3 separate regions of the Homo sapiens genome follow, and all the other regions are linked to region 2. The links are contacts of gene promoters, found by promoter capture Hi-C in human tissues and cell types (Jung and others, 2019). All regions are on one chromosome and are shown on one strand. Each heading gives the region's core, a stretch centred on a gene start or on the middle of the fragment in contact. The rest is flanking DNA. Distances are from core to core; before and after follow the strand shown.

Evidence for each region. The method cuts DNA at HindIII sites, captures the fragments that hold promoters and counts their contacts. A contact is called where the count stands out against the background at its distance.
Region 1: a contact is called between a fragment that was not itself captured here and the fragment with the promoter of MANBAL in region 2, in 1 of the 25 tissues and cell types used here (lymphoblastoid cells).
Region 3: a fragment that was not itself captured here is called in contact with the fragment with the promoter of MANBAL in region 2 in 1 of the 25 tissues and cell types used here (dorsolateral prefrontal cortex).

Annotation. Positions count from the first base shown.
Region 1 is chr20:37,978,928-37,983,239 of GRCh38, reverse strand. TTI1 (TELO2 interacting protein 1) reads left to right here. Exons shown (of 8, transcript NM_001303457.2): 8 at 1-219. Among named protein-coding and RNA genes, the nearest start is that of TTI1, 52 kb to the left of the region's middle. The HindIII fragment of the contact is 8,966 bases long and covers 1-4,312 here.
Region 2 is chr20:37,287,853-37,292,349 of GRCh38, reverse strand. It overlaps MANBAL (mannosidase beta like), which reads right to left and starts at 2,695. Exons shown (of 3, transcript NM_001003897.2): 1 at 2,664-2,695. RefSeq lists enhancers at 483-592, 1,821-2,725, 2,798-2,907. The HindIII fragment of the contact is 10,035 bases long and covers 1-4,497 here.
Region 3 is chr20:37,917,454-37,922,096 of GRCh38, reverse strand. All of the region lies in intron 1 of VSTM2L (V-set and transmembrane domain containing 2 like), which reads right to left. It overlaps LOC124904896 (a long non-coding RNA gene), which reads left to right and starts at 3,105. Exons shown (of 3, transcript XR_007067576.1): 1 at 3,105-4,643. RefSeq lists an enhancer at 4,369-4,643. The HindIII fragment of the contact is 6,050 bases long and covers 1-4,643 here.

The sequences.
Region 1 (4,312 bases), core at 1,336-3,835, 690 kb before region 2:
TGACATTGTCTGGTGGCTCTAAGGGTTTAACCCCTTAGCCTACCATCTCTATAGCCCCAGCTCCCTCACAGGCCACACACACACACACACAAGAGGTCAGTTCCCCTCCATCTGCATACACCTCCCTGTCTTCAAATAATGAGATGGAACTAATTTGTTTTACCTAACCTGATCTTTGGGAAACAAACGGAAATAAAGACACTTCTTGGATGAAAAGTATGATCAAAAGCTCACTTTGAAGTTTTTTATTTAAACTGGGTGGTTTTTTTAAAATGAGTTTATATTCTTGAATGGTTAATATAGAACCATGGTATAAAATCCAAATCCAAGCAGTACAAAACAGAAAACAATGAAGAGTAAATCTCCCCCTCCCCATTTCCCAGCCGTCAGGTTTCTCTCTCCAAAGGCAACCACTCGTAACAATGTTTTGGTTACTTTTCAAGCAGGAGGTTAATTTTTTTTAACATTTTACTATGGGTAATAGTGTAAATTCCCATGTCCCCATGAACCTGGCTTCCCTGGCAGTCAGCATGTGGCCAGGCTTGCTTCCTCTGTGCCCCACCCATGTACCTCTCTCTCCACACCCCGGATTTTTTTGAAGCAAATCCCAGATGTTACATTGAAACTTTTTTTAAACGTACAACCACAATACCATTATCACACCTAACCAAATTAACAATGATCCTTTAATATTGTCAGATATTTTCAGTGTCTAAATTTCCCCAGTGTGTTTGGATCAGGATCCAAATAAGTGATATACATTGCTGGTATCAGTATATTCCCTAATAAATCTCTTTTAGGCCGGGTGCAGTGGCTCATGCCTGTAATCCCAGCACTTTGGGAGGCCGAGGTGGGCGGATTACCTGAGGTCAGGAGTTCGAGACCAGCCTGACCAACATGGAAAAACCCCGTCTCTACTAAAAATACAAAATTAGCTGGGCGTGGTGGTGTATGCCTGTAATCCCAGCTACTCAGGAGGCTGAGGCAGGAGAATCACTTGAACCCAGGAGATGGAGGTTGTGGTGAGCCAGGATTGCGCCATTGCACTCCAACCTGGACAACAAGAGCGAAACTCCATCTCTAAAATAAAAAATAAATCTCTTTTAATGTGTAGATTTCCCCCTCCACCTCTCTCTCATTTTCCTTGTAAGTTTTTTGGTGGAGAAACACGGTCATTTTTCCTACAGCATTTCCCACCGTCTGGATTTATTGATTGCATCCCTATGGAGGTCATTTCTTGGGCCCCTCCTCTCACCTGTGTTTCCTGGCCATTGGGAGGCAGAGTAAGAGTCGTGATCAGGATTGAGTCTCTTAGCTTTGTTTTTGGCACTTCTCCTCCATAGGTGGTGTTACGTACTTCCATCAGGAGGTATGTAAGTCTGATCTTACTGTGTTATTAGCAACCATGGTGATCTCACTGGAATCCACACACTCATTAGGGATTGCAGAGTAATGCTGTTCTAATTCTGCCATGCTGGCTTGCTGTTAACCAGAGTCCTTGTGTAAGGGGAACCTTCCCTTCATCAACCATCTGGTAACCTACCGGTACAGTTTGTATGGAAAAGGCAAGATGGCACCTGCCTGTAATCCCGGCTACTCGGGAGGCTGAGGAGGAGAATGGCATGAACCAGGGAAGGCGGAGGTTGCAGTGAGCAGAGATCGCGCCATTGCACTCCAGCCTGGACGACAGAGCAATACTTCGTCTCAAAAAGAAAAAAAAAAAGAAAAGAAAAGGCAAGATAAATACTCGATTTTTTTCTAGCTGAGAAATTTAAAACACACAGATTATGTAAATTGAGGTGCACATCCCACCCCAGGGCTCCCATGTATGCTGAAGGATCCCAGGGATGATGAATGCTTCCTCACAGGTGCATGGTGAGGCACCGGCTAGATCACAATTCCGGTGACATAGATAATCCCCAAACTCTTAAAAAGCCCAGAGGGTGCCTGGCATGGGGACATATTGGTGTGAGGGTCCCCAGCCAGCTCTGGAGAGGCCCCACTCAATTCCTTCTCCACTCCGCCCTGCAAGGGCCGAGTTATGTCCAGCTCCAGTCTCGGTGGCGGCAGCCTGGCTCTGTCTGGCTCCTGAGCCCTCAGGGAATCCTTCTCTTGGGGCTTTTTTCAGTTCTGCAGCCTGTAAAGTGGAGGGATTGGACCAGAGGGGGAGCTCTTCATCTGTTGGGATTGTGGGGACCCACTCCCCAGAAACTTGCTCCCGCTCCTCCCTTGTTACCCCCAGGAGGGCACTGCATCCTCCAAGACTGCAGTGGGCACTATCTCATCTGCTGAGGATGCTTCACTGACCTCACAAGATTCCATGTACAATTCCAGAGGCTTCACCTGTGACCCCGCAAGGACCCCAAGTTAAGAACCCCCTCAAAGAGCAAGATAATCACTTAACTCTCTTTGAGCTTTAAAATTCTGGGATGATTTCCTTTGGAAAAAGGGAGGGAAATGCCTCTAATTACGGAGATGGTAAAAGCATTCACAGCATTGTTCCTAATTCCACTGGGGACCCAAAGTGATAGGCTAATTCAGTCTCCAGATTCTGACAAATGAGAAAACAGGTCAGGGAGGTGGCATGACTTGCTGAGCATTACTTAGCTCTCCCGGTGAGATTAAAGTAGCCTGCCTTCGCAGAGCATCTGGGTGTGGCAAGCCGCGATGCTGTCCTGAGAGGCCAGGAAGATGTGCACACGCATCCTGATAAAAACTTGGACTCTGCGAAAGCTCTCCAGGAGATAATCAGCATAAGAGGATACACCATGGCTCTCCGAAAACCCACTTCTTCCTCAAAGAGTTAAGCTATCTTGAGTTGCTTTCAGATTCTTGCAGGCAGATTGTTGCACTTGATTTAAAAAAAAAAAAAATCTCATTAGAGTGCATCTCCAGTTATGATTATATTCAGGCAACTTTAATTTTGAACCTGTCCAGCTGACTCAGTCTAGTCCTTGTTAACATAAGCTTTGCAAAATACTCCATTCCCCCTGTTAAAACTTGTGGAGTAATAGGGGTTTCTTATTTCACTCAGGGCGCACCAGCACTTCAAGTATTGTTTGGGCTGGGGTTAGGGGTTGGTATAGAATGAATAAGTAGATACTGCAAGGCCTTGAATTTCAGCTTGAGATGTTTGAGCCGTGATCTGCAGGCTGTAGAAGGCTCCTGGAGGATGCAGGAAAGTATAGACCTGGACCCAGGGGATCCTTGGAGATGGCTGGAGGGGGGTGGCTGTGGTCTTCAGAAGGCACTGTGTTGTGGAAGGAGCATGGATGATTTGGAGTTCCTCAGCGCTGGGCTTCATTTCTGACTCCGCCTCTCTGTAACCGTGTGACCTTGGGCAAGTCATTTTACTTCCGAGCTGCATTTTCCCATCTCTGAATTAGAGCTGTTGCCACTGCCTCTTCAGGCAGCTGCATCAGAGGGGATGGATGCGGTAGTGTTTCTAAAGCATCTGACACTGTGCCTGGGGCTCCAGCAACATCTTTCCCCCGCTGCCCATGGCTTTGTTATGGCTGCAATACACACTCCTCTTGACGGTTACAGCCGAGGAAGTAGATGGTTAGGTCTCAGCATGTACCACCCAGAAACTAAAATAGAACCACGGTAGGGTGAGAGAATCAAAGAAGGCTTCTAGGAGGAGGTGACGTCCTAGTGGACAAGTAGATTTCAGCAGACAGAATAATGGGCATTCCAGACAGGAAAAATCACATGCCCAAAGAGCTGTGGGCATACCTGCCAGTATCTGTACACATCATAACTCGGTTGGGAGTGACAGGAGACCCAATTCAAAATTGGCTTGAGCAAAAAAAAAAATACCTTGGCACACAGAACGAAGAGGCCCCGCAGGCACAGCTCCCCCAGCCTGTCTGTCTTCTGATGCTGCTTTCCCCAGTGGTGGCTTCACTCTGACTCCAGGCTCCTGTTCCTTCAGCATCACACACCCAAGTGAATGTGCACCTCCTAACAGCTCTAGCCAAAGGCCTAGGATTGGGTTGGATTTTTAGAGATGGGGTCTTGCACTGTTGCCCAAGCTGACCTGGAACTCCCGAGCTCAAGAGATCCTCCCACCTCAGCCTAAATCCTAGGATTTGCTCTCATTGGCTCAGCCGGTGCTTTGCCCAGCCCCAAACCAAACTTGGTCCATCTACAACGGGTGTCAGCAACTTTCTCTGTAAAGGGCCAGAGTGAATCTATTAGGGTTTACAGGCCATACATAAAGGTCTCTGTGGCATCTTCTTTGACTTTTTTTTTCTTACAATCTTGTTGTTGTTGTTGTTGTTGTTGTTGTTGTTGCTGTTGTTGTTGAAAC
Region 2 (4,497 bases), core at 1,446-3,945:
AGCCTGGGCGACAGCGGGAGACCCTGTCTCAAAACAAAACAAATCCATGAGTTCACACCGATACAAATATATGACTCTGTAAGCAAAAAATAGGGGAACAGACAAATTTCCCACAGAGAACTCCAAATAATTTGCATTATATACTCTGCCTTTAAGCATGGGGCATAATTCCACACTCCTTAAATGTGTGCTGTACATAATGACTTTCTCCAAAAGTACAGTGCGGAAAGTGCAGGAGGAAAAGTAACTCTACACTGGAAAAGCCTGACTACTACCTCAAGCCAGGTGGCTCAAGCTAACAGATGTCAACAATGATAACTCATATCGATAGTATGTACCCTTGATATGATGTGATGAGAATAGCACTTTACTTCTGTGGTTGGATTAGTCCATTTTCATACCACTTTGAAGAAATACCCGAGACTGGGTAATTAATAAAGAAAAAGAGGTTTAACGGACTCACGGTTCCACATGGGTGGGTAGGCCTCACAATCACGGCAAAAGGCAAAGGGGAGGCAAGGGCATGTCTTATGTGACAGCAGGCAAGAGAGTGTGTGCAGGGGAACTGCCCTTTATAAAACCATCAGATCTCCTGAGACTTATTCACTATCAGGAGAATAGCATGGGAAAGACCCACCCCCATGATTCAATTGTCTCCCACCAGGACCCTCCCACAACATGGGGGGATTATGGGAGCTACAATTCAAGATGAGATTTGGGTGGGGACACAGCCGAACCCTATCAGTGGTCCTCCTCCCCAAAAACCCATTACCCTGATCTTACTCATGTCAAAAACAGGCAAATCCTAATTAAAGGTCCTTCTGCAAAATATCTGACCAGTCAGTACTATCTTCAAAACCCTCAAGTTCATCTAAAACAAGGGAAGTCTGAGAAACGATCACAGAGATGATGAGCCTAAAGAGATATGATGACTAAATGTAATAGGGTGCCCTGGATAATACCAGGACAGAAAAAGGACATTAGGGAAAAACTAAGGAAATGTGAATAAAGTACAGATTAGAGTTAATAATAATGTATCAATATTGGTTCAGTAATTGTGACATTTCAGATATTAGTAATAGGGGAAACGTGGGCTATATGGGCACTCACTGAAGTATCTTTGCGATAACTTTGTAAATCTAAAATTATTCTAAAACAAAAAGGTTATTGGGGAAAAAAAGAATGGGTCAACATTTCAAAACAAATAAATAAAAAACCACTGAGACAAGTATAGCTCTCAAGACTTAGCAAATACTAAATCTTCTCTTAAGACTGAAAAACTCAGATTTCACGACTGCCACAGGCCTTCATCTCCCAATGTTGTGTACTGTGCTGGTAGGCCATTCTTGGCTTCTAATGAAGTAACTTTAAATTCTATTGTGAAAATTCAGCTGAAAACAGACTGGGGAATAGAAACCAGTGTCAGAAGTTACTGTTTTAGGCCAGGCACAGTGGCTCTTGCCAGTAATCCCAAACACTTTGGGAGGTCCAGGAGGAAGGATATCTTGCCTCCAGGAGTTCAAGACCAGGCAGGAAAACATAGTGAGACTCCATCTCTATTTCAACTTTTTTTTAATTAAAAAGAAAAAAAAGCCGGGTGTGGTGGCTCCCGCCTATAATCCCAACACTCTGGGAGGCCGAGGCGGGTGGATCACCTGAGGTCGGGAGTTTGAGACCAGCCTGGCCAACATGGTGAAACCCTGTCTTTACTAAAGATACAAAAATTAGCCGGGCGTGGTGGCACACGTCTGTAATCCCAGCTATTCGGAAAGCTGAGGCAGGAGAATCGCTTGAACCCAAGAAGCGGAGGTTGCAGTGAGCCAAGATCCCGCCACTGCCCTTCAGCGTGGACGAGAGAGAGACTCCGTCTCTAAATAAATAAATAGAATGGCTTTAAAAAAAAAAAAAGGAAAGAAAAAGAAGTTACCGCTTTATGGCAATGGGTTGTACAGCCTGGCCCGTCCCATTAAAACAAATTCCTAAGAACCACGCAAAACTAGATTAGAATGCAAAGCTAAGCCACCTCTCTGGGCAAAGTCACACTGGTAGCCGGTGGGCTGAAACTGGTGTGCAGATGCCCTGCAAAATATAATTATTAATCTAAATGTGTTGTCACCATTTTAAAAATGTTTCTCATATTCATTTCTCGCTTCTCTTAGAATTCGTACAACAAACATGGACTGTGCACCTACTAAGGGCTTTACATTCACCACCTCGGTTTACCCCGCAGTACAAGCGTGTATGTCCATTTTAGAAGACGAAACTGAGGGCCAGAGAGGAACCGTGACTTGCCCACGGTAAGAGAGCCATACGGATTCGAACCCTGGCCAGATTCACTCTGGAGCTCAGGGTTCTCCTACTGCTCCACCCGTGGGAGGAAAGGCCCGGACCAGGCCATGAGGAGCCCTGGGTTCTGGCCCAGCCTCCGCACGAAAGCGCAGGGCTGCCCCAGGCGAGGCCCTCCGCCTCCCGGGGGGCTCAAATTCCCCTCCGGAAGTAACTTTCGAACAACCGCCGAGGGAACGTATTCAGGCCCTGAGCGGAGCGACAGCCGGGCCCACCAAGCGGCGCCGCTGGAGACAGGCCGGCCGGGAAAGCCAGGCCACCGCACCGAGGACGGCTCTCTCTCGGTTCCCACCCCACCGCAAAGCTGCGGCACTCACCTCCCGCGCCGCCGCGCCGCTCCCCCGGAAGTAGTTCCCTGCGACCCTGAGTCCCGGAAGTGACGCGCACTGAGCAACCAACCGGCTCTGTTCCGCCCGCGTTGCCAGGTTTCTGGGTGAGGCACCGCTGGGTTTTGTCGACTTTTGTCCCTGTTCTGTGGGTTCGAGCTGGACAAAGAGGTTTGGGGAAATGAAATCTAGAGCTTGTCAATTCTTTAAGCTCCTATATCACTCAGCTCGTTTCAGCAACATTTTTGTTTAATTAAAAAGAAAACAAAAGAAATTACTTCTCGGGGCTGGGCACGGTGGCTCACGCCTGTAATCCCAGCACTTTGGGAGGCCGAGGCGGACGGATCACTTGAGGTCAGGAGTTCGAGACCAGCCTGGTCAACATGGTGAAACCCCGTCTCTACCAAAAATACAAAAATTAGCCGGGCGTGGTGGCGGGCGCCTGTAATCCCAGCTGCTTGGGAGGCTGAGGCAAGAGAATCTCTTGAATCCCGGGAGGCAGAAGTTGCAGTGAGCCGAGATCGCGCCACTGCACTCCAGCCTGGGCGACAGAATGAGACTCTTCCTCAAAAAAAAAAAAAAAAAAAAAAAAAAGTTACTTATTCATCGCAATGGGCTGTATAGCTTGGCCCGTCTCATTGTAACAAATTCGTAAGAACTGCGCGAAACTAGATTAGAATTTTGTCCTATGCAAAGCTAAGCCATCTCCCAGAGCAGAGCACAGTCACAACTGGTAGCTGGTGAGCTAAAACGGGTGTGTAGCTGTCCTGCAAAATGTTCATCTGGATGTGTTGTCACTATTTCAAAAGTGTTTCTCACGTTCATTTCCTTAATTTTATGCCAGGTCCTGAGCTAGGAGCCTACAATGCAGAGAGGAGACAAACAGAAACACCTCTTGTAATTCAGACAGAAGCAAATCATTATAATTCATTCAAAAAGCATTCACTGAGCGCGTACTCTATGCTTTGTCCTTGTAACTGAGGACACAGTGCTAAAGCAGACACATACAGTCTCTGCCCTTGTGGTGCTTACAGTCCGTTGGAGGGAGACAGACTAATTAAATGAATGTGTAATCATATAACAGGATAAGTTTTTTGAAGGCAAAGAACAGTGTTCCATGATTAAGAAGGGGTGGGGGGCAAGTAGTAGGAGAAAAAGAAACCTAGATGAGAGTGTGATAACCAGCCTCCACCATAAACCCTGACGATTCTTGGCTCCTGATATCCATACCCCTCTGTAGTCACCTCCCACCAAGAATAAGACTGACCTGTATAACCCATAGGATATTGCGGAAATCTTGGAGCACGAGTTCCAAGATAAAGTCATAAAAGACATTGCAACTTCCTCTTTCCTCTGTCTTGATTGCTCATGGGGAATCCATGTTGTGAAGACACTCAAGCAGTCCTATGGAGAGGCTCGCATGGGGAGTAACTGAGCTGCCTGCCAACAACCAGCTCCAACTTGCCAGCCATGTGTATGAGCCAAGTGGCTCCAGCAGTCCTAGTCAAGCTTTCAAATGACTGTGGCCTGGCCAAAATCTTCAGTGTAAACTCAAGAGCAACCTTGAGCCAGAAATACCTTGCAATGCCACTTGAATGCCTGCCTCACAGAAATTGTGAAATACTAAATGTTATTGTTTTAAGCTCCTAAGTTTTAGGATAATTGGTTATGCAGCCTAGATAACATACATAGAGGATCAAGGAACAGAGGTTAGATACCAGAGACTCCAAAAAAAAAAAAGAGAGAGAGAGAGACCTATCTTGCCCTAAAGGAATTCAGTCTCTTAGAAGACAAATAATACACTCAACATTCACTAATCCCATAC
Region 3 (4,643 bases), core at 1,689-4,188, 630 kb before region 2:
GATGCGGCTGAACCATATACTTACAAATGGGGAAAATGGGAAACTTTCTGTTATGTATATTTTACCAGAATTTTATTAAAGCCTCTACTGGCTTCCCTGGGCTCACTGCAGCAGTGGATTTACAATAAAAATCTCCTAGAGTGGGAAGATCGCTGGGGCCCAGGAGTTCAAGGCTGCAGTGGGCTATGATCACGCCACTGCACTCCAGCCTGGGTGACAGAGCAAGACTCCATCTCAAAAAAAAAAAAAAAAAAAAAAGGAAAAGAAAGAAAGAAAGAGAGAAAGAAAACAAAAATCCCCTGAACTTGTTCCCAGAATATCCCTCCCCGCATCTTCAACTCCTTCAAACCTCGGCTCCAATGTCACCTCCTCAGTGAGGCCCTCCCTTCTCCCCCACCCTCTCTCAGTTCCCTTTTCTCTACCTCATATTTCTCCTTACCACTCATCACTCCCCTATTACATGTTTGCTCATTTTATTTCTGTGTATCATCTGTACTCCAACTAGAATTGAAGATGGAGATTCTAGTTAAAGGCAGGAGATTCTAGTCTGTTCACTGCCATGTCCCGGCAGCTAGAGCAACACCATGCACATAGTAGATGCTCAGGGAACACTCTGCTCTAGCAGCTCTGGTGGCAGGCAGGGGAAGGATCCCATTTTCCCTACTCCGGGCTGCCTGGGGCCTTCAGGAAGCTCCCGTACTTGGGCCTCATTGGGAAACTACCAGCCCTCAGGGTCAAAATCAGGCTCCCAGGCTCGGCATCCAAAGTCTGCAGGCTCTGGTTCTGCCCAGACCCCAACTGCAGCCCCTCCTGGCCACTTACATGTGTCCCCCTAAGGACACAGCCTGCACACTGTCCCTGGAATCCTGACTCACAGGTAGTCCTCTGCCTAAAGGTACTCTCCCTCCTCAGGCTAGGGTGGAAGCCCTGCTTGGTGCCCCCAGAGGTCTCCGAGGCTGCCTCTCCCTGCCCTGGAGTGTGTTACATGACAGATGCTGAGTGTGTTATATGACATCTGGAGTGTGTTATATGACAGATGTTATATGACAGGTGTCTGGGTCTCCTGCAAGCTGGGAACTCTCCCAGGTCAGGGACCCTGCATTGCCCAGCCCAGATCAGGCACACAGGAGGTGGCTAGGCATGTACTAAACACATGAGTGAATGAATGAATGAATGAATCAATCAATCAATCAATCAATCAAGGGAGAAAGGAAGGTCAGACAAAAGCCCAGAGGATTGAAGTTCTAAGGAAAAAACCAATAGGCATAGAAATCATTCATTCATTCATCCAGTTCATTCATTCACTCAACATTTATTGGATGCCTACTATGTGCCAGATTGGAGTTTCCTGGGGGGACTGTGCCCACAGGAGCAGGGATAGGGACAGACATGTGGACACTATGGACATGCATAAGCAGGGAGGTCCTAAGTGAGGCTTGGCAGGCCGGCCTCCTCCCCACTGTCCCTCTCCTCCTGGCCCTTGTGGCCACTGGCTGCCCAAGGCCAGCCTGGCCCACCTGGCCCAGCTGAGGGGCCACCCAGCCAGACTGACAGGCAGGCTGGAGGCTCCCCCTGAGATGGCCCATAAAGTCATCTTGTGAAACGCAACCAAGAATGAAACAGGGCAATAAATAAAGGCTGACAGTGCCAGGAGTGGGTGGCTGCTTCGCCAGTAGCTCCCCAACCCTTGTTGGCTACGGGCCAGCCCAGCAGCCCCGTGGCATCATCTTTCTGATTGGAGCCCACGATGCAACAGGAAGGTGATGTGCCTGATCCCATATGATGCTCACAGTGATCCTGCTGGGCAGGGATCATTGTCCCTTTATTCCAGGCAGGGAAACTGAGGCTCAGGGACATGTGTCACAAGGTCACACTGCAAGTCAGGAGCAGGAGCTGGGATTCAAACCCAGACCTTGGGACTCTAGAATTCAAACACTTCCCTGTTTCTGCTGGCTCCGTTGTTGCAGTGATGAAGACAGAGTAAGGGGGCATCGACAGCCTCTGCAGCCACTGCCCACTTCCATACCTGGCCCTTTTCCAGCAGCGTGAGAAAACCAAAGCTCAGAGAACCTGGGGGCCATTGGAGCCAGTCTCCTGCCCCGGGGTTGAAGGAAGGAAGCCCCTCCTCTATGCCAGACACTGTACACAGGACCCCTTTCATCCTCTCAGACTTGATGAGATGGTACTATTATCAGCCCCATTTCACAGAGGAAGTGCCAAGGCTCAGAGAGGGAGAGTCGGTGCCTGAGATCACACAGCATCAAGGGACAAGTTAGAGTTCAGCCTGACTTCAAGCTGGCTGCAAAATTTCCCCCACTGAAGCCTAAATCTTATCTAAGCCCCATCCTTTTCAGCTAGAAAAAGTGTGATTCTCTGGGGCCATTTCCAGGAAGCCTGCTCTATGCCCAGCTCAGCTGGGTGGCAAGGCCACAAGGGTGTGTGTGCTCCAGGTTCAGGAAGGCCTGTGGCCACCTTGCCTCCCAGCTGGGAAGCAGAGTAAGAGCTCTCCCGGGGAAAGGGCTGGAGAGGGAGGATTTAATGAGGTCCCAGCCCAACCGCCTGTAAATCTCAGCTGGCTTCTAAAATCAGGAGACATAAAATCCCCATAAGAAGAAAACCCAGATAATCAGGATGGAAAAGCCCTCCAGAAACAGAGAAGCCTGGCTGTGTCCAGGGCCCTCTCCTCCCCAGGGAGGCACCCGAGGGTTCTCTTTGTTTCTTTCTGGGTAGCCCTTGGCCCCTGACAGGTGCCTGCGGCAGGAGGAATGGAGGTGTGAGTTCATGAAGGTTGCTTCACCTTGGGACAGGCAAACAAACGCAGATGGGCTTTCTTCCTAAGAAGCCAAGAAGAAGGCATTTTGTAAGAAAGCTTAGGGAACTGCAGCATGCCTTGGTGGGAGGTGTCTGCCTCAGCGTGCAGTAGGAGCTTAAGTCCTCCCTCAAAAGGAATGGAAGAGATCAGCTCTGATGGACCCCCTACCCTAAGCCAGGCCCCGTGCCAGGCTTCCCAGGATGCCACAGATCAGGCCCCTGCCCTCAGGGAGCCTGCAGTCCCCAGGAGAGACACACATGCCAGAGACTGCTATAGGAACAATGGCTGGGATTGAACCTGGACTGCCATGTACAGTTGTTCAGAATGTGCACTGTTCATATGGCCATGAATCATAGTGCTGCCCAGGGTTATGCAGGGCAAACTGCATGTTGGAGCTATGGAAGGAGGTGCAGGTTCTAGAAGATCCTAGGAGAAAGATAGGCTCGTGTCTGCCTGGAGAGTCAGGGGAGGTTACCAGGAGAAGGGGACTTGCTTGGACCTGAAGGCTGACTGAGGTTTGCACAGTCAGAGGGGACTCAGAACAGAAAAGGGCATACCAGAGAGGGGTCTCCCAAGCCCAGCCTTTTAGCTGCCATCACCATTTCCACAGGGTCCCTGTACCACATGCACCATTATTTACTTAATATTTATTTTCAAAGCATCTTTCCCCTTTTACTTAAATAAATTCAGGTTAAAAGAAGACTTTTATTACCGCCATAAATGAAAAATCAGCATCACTTGCCATAAATAGAGGGTAACTGTAAAAATAAACGCTATGAAAACCAAACAGCATTCGTAAATTCTAGCCAAAGAAGCTTGCCTGCTGAAGGCTATGAGCCTCAATCTCCGTTTTTTTCTCATTAACAAGGGAGACTGGCGAAGGTTAGGTGTTAAAGTCAGAGAAGCACCAGCAGAGACTTTCTTCTTAATCACAAGGGGCTTGGGACGCAGGTCCTGCTCAAGTGTGGACACCAGCGGGCACCCAGCACCAGCCCTGGCTTCCGATGGCCATGGCCCAATCTCACAACCCATCACTAGTTCCCACCTCCAAGCCTTGCTCCTGCTGGGCCACATACCTGGAAAGCTTCCCTGCCACTTCCCTATCCCAATCTTGCCGATTCTTCCAGTGTGGCTCTTGGGACAGCATCCTTGCCCGTAGTGAGAACTAACACCCACTTAAGGAATGAAAATACCTGAATTGCATACTTGGAGAATGAATGAACAAAGAAATGAATGGATGACCCCTTTATGGTCTGTGCTGCTCAAACCAGGAAAGCAACTTCCTGAGGCATTGACTTCACTCCAGAAACATGGGACAAGAACGTTATTTTTGTATTAAAACAAACATGAATATATTATGGGATAGAATATAGAAGTCATAAATTTTGAATGAAATAGGAGACATCAAAGAAATGTTGCCCCTGGTGAGAGCTGTTTACTCTCCTGCGTGGGCCGCACGCCATCAACGGCCTCTTGTCCCATCCAGTCCAAAGCCTCCTTCTCCGCAACCCCAGGCTCCGCAGAGCTCAGACTGTGCTCTACCCACAGGAAGTGCTGGTGTGGTGGCTAACAGGGGAAGGGGCCAGGGGGACGGTCGGGCACTAGGGCGAGGGGGAGCCCAGGATTTACGGTGAGGATGCAAGCCACAGCTCTCCCTGGCGTGCTGGGTGGCATTGTGCAAGCTGCTTCACTACTCTGAGCTCTGGTTTCCCACTGTGTCATTGATTACAGGCTTATTTTGAGGATTAAATGGGCAAATGCAAGTGAAGAGCCTGTTTCAGTGTGTAGCACCCAGAAGGTCCACAACAACCGCTGTTCCCTGGTGGAACCC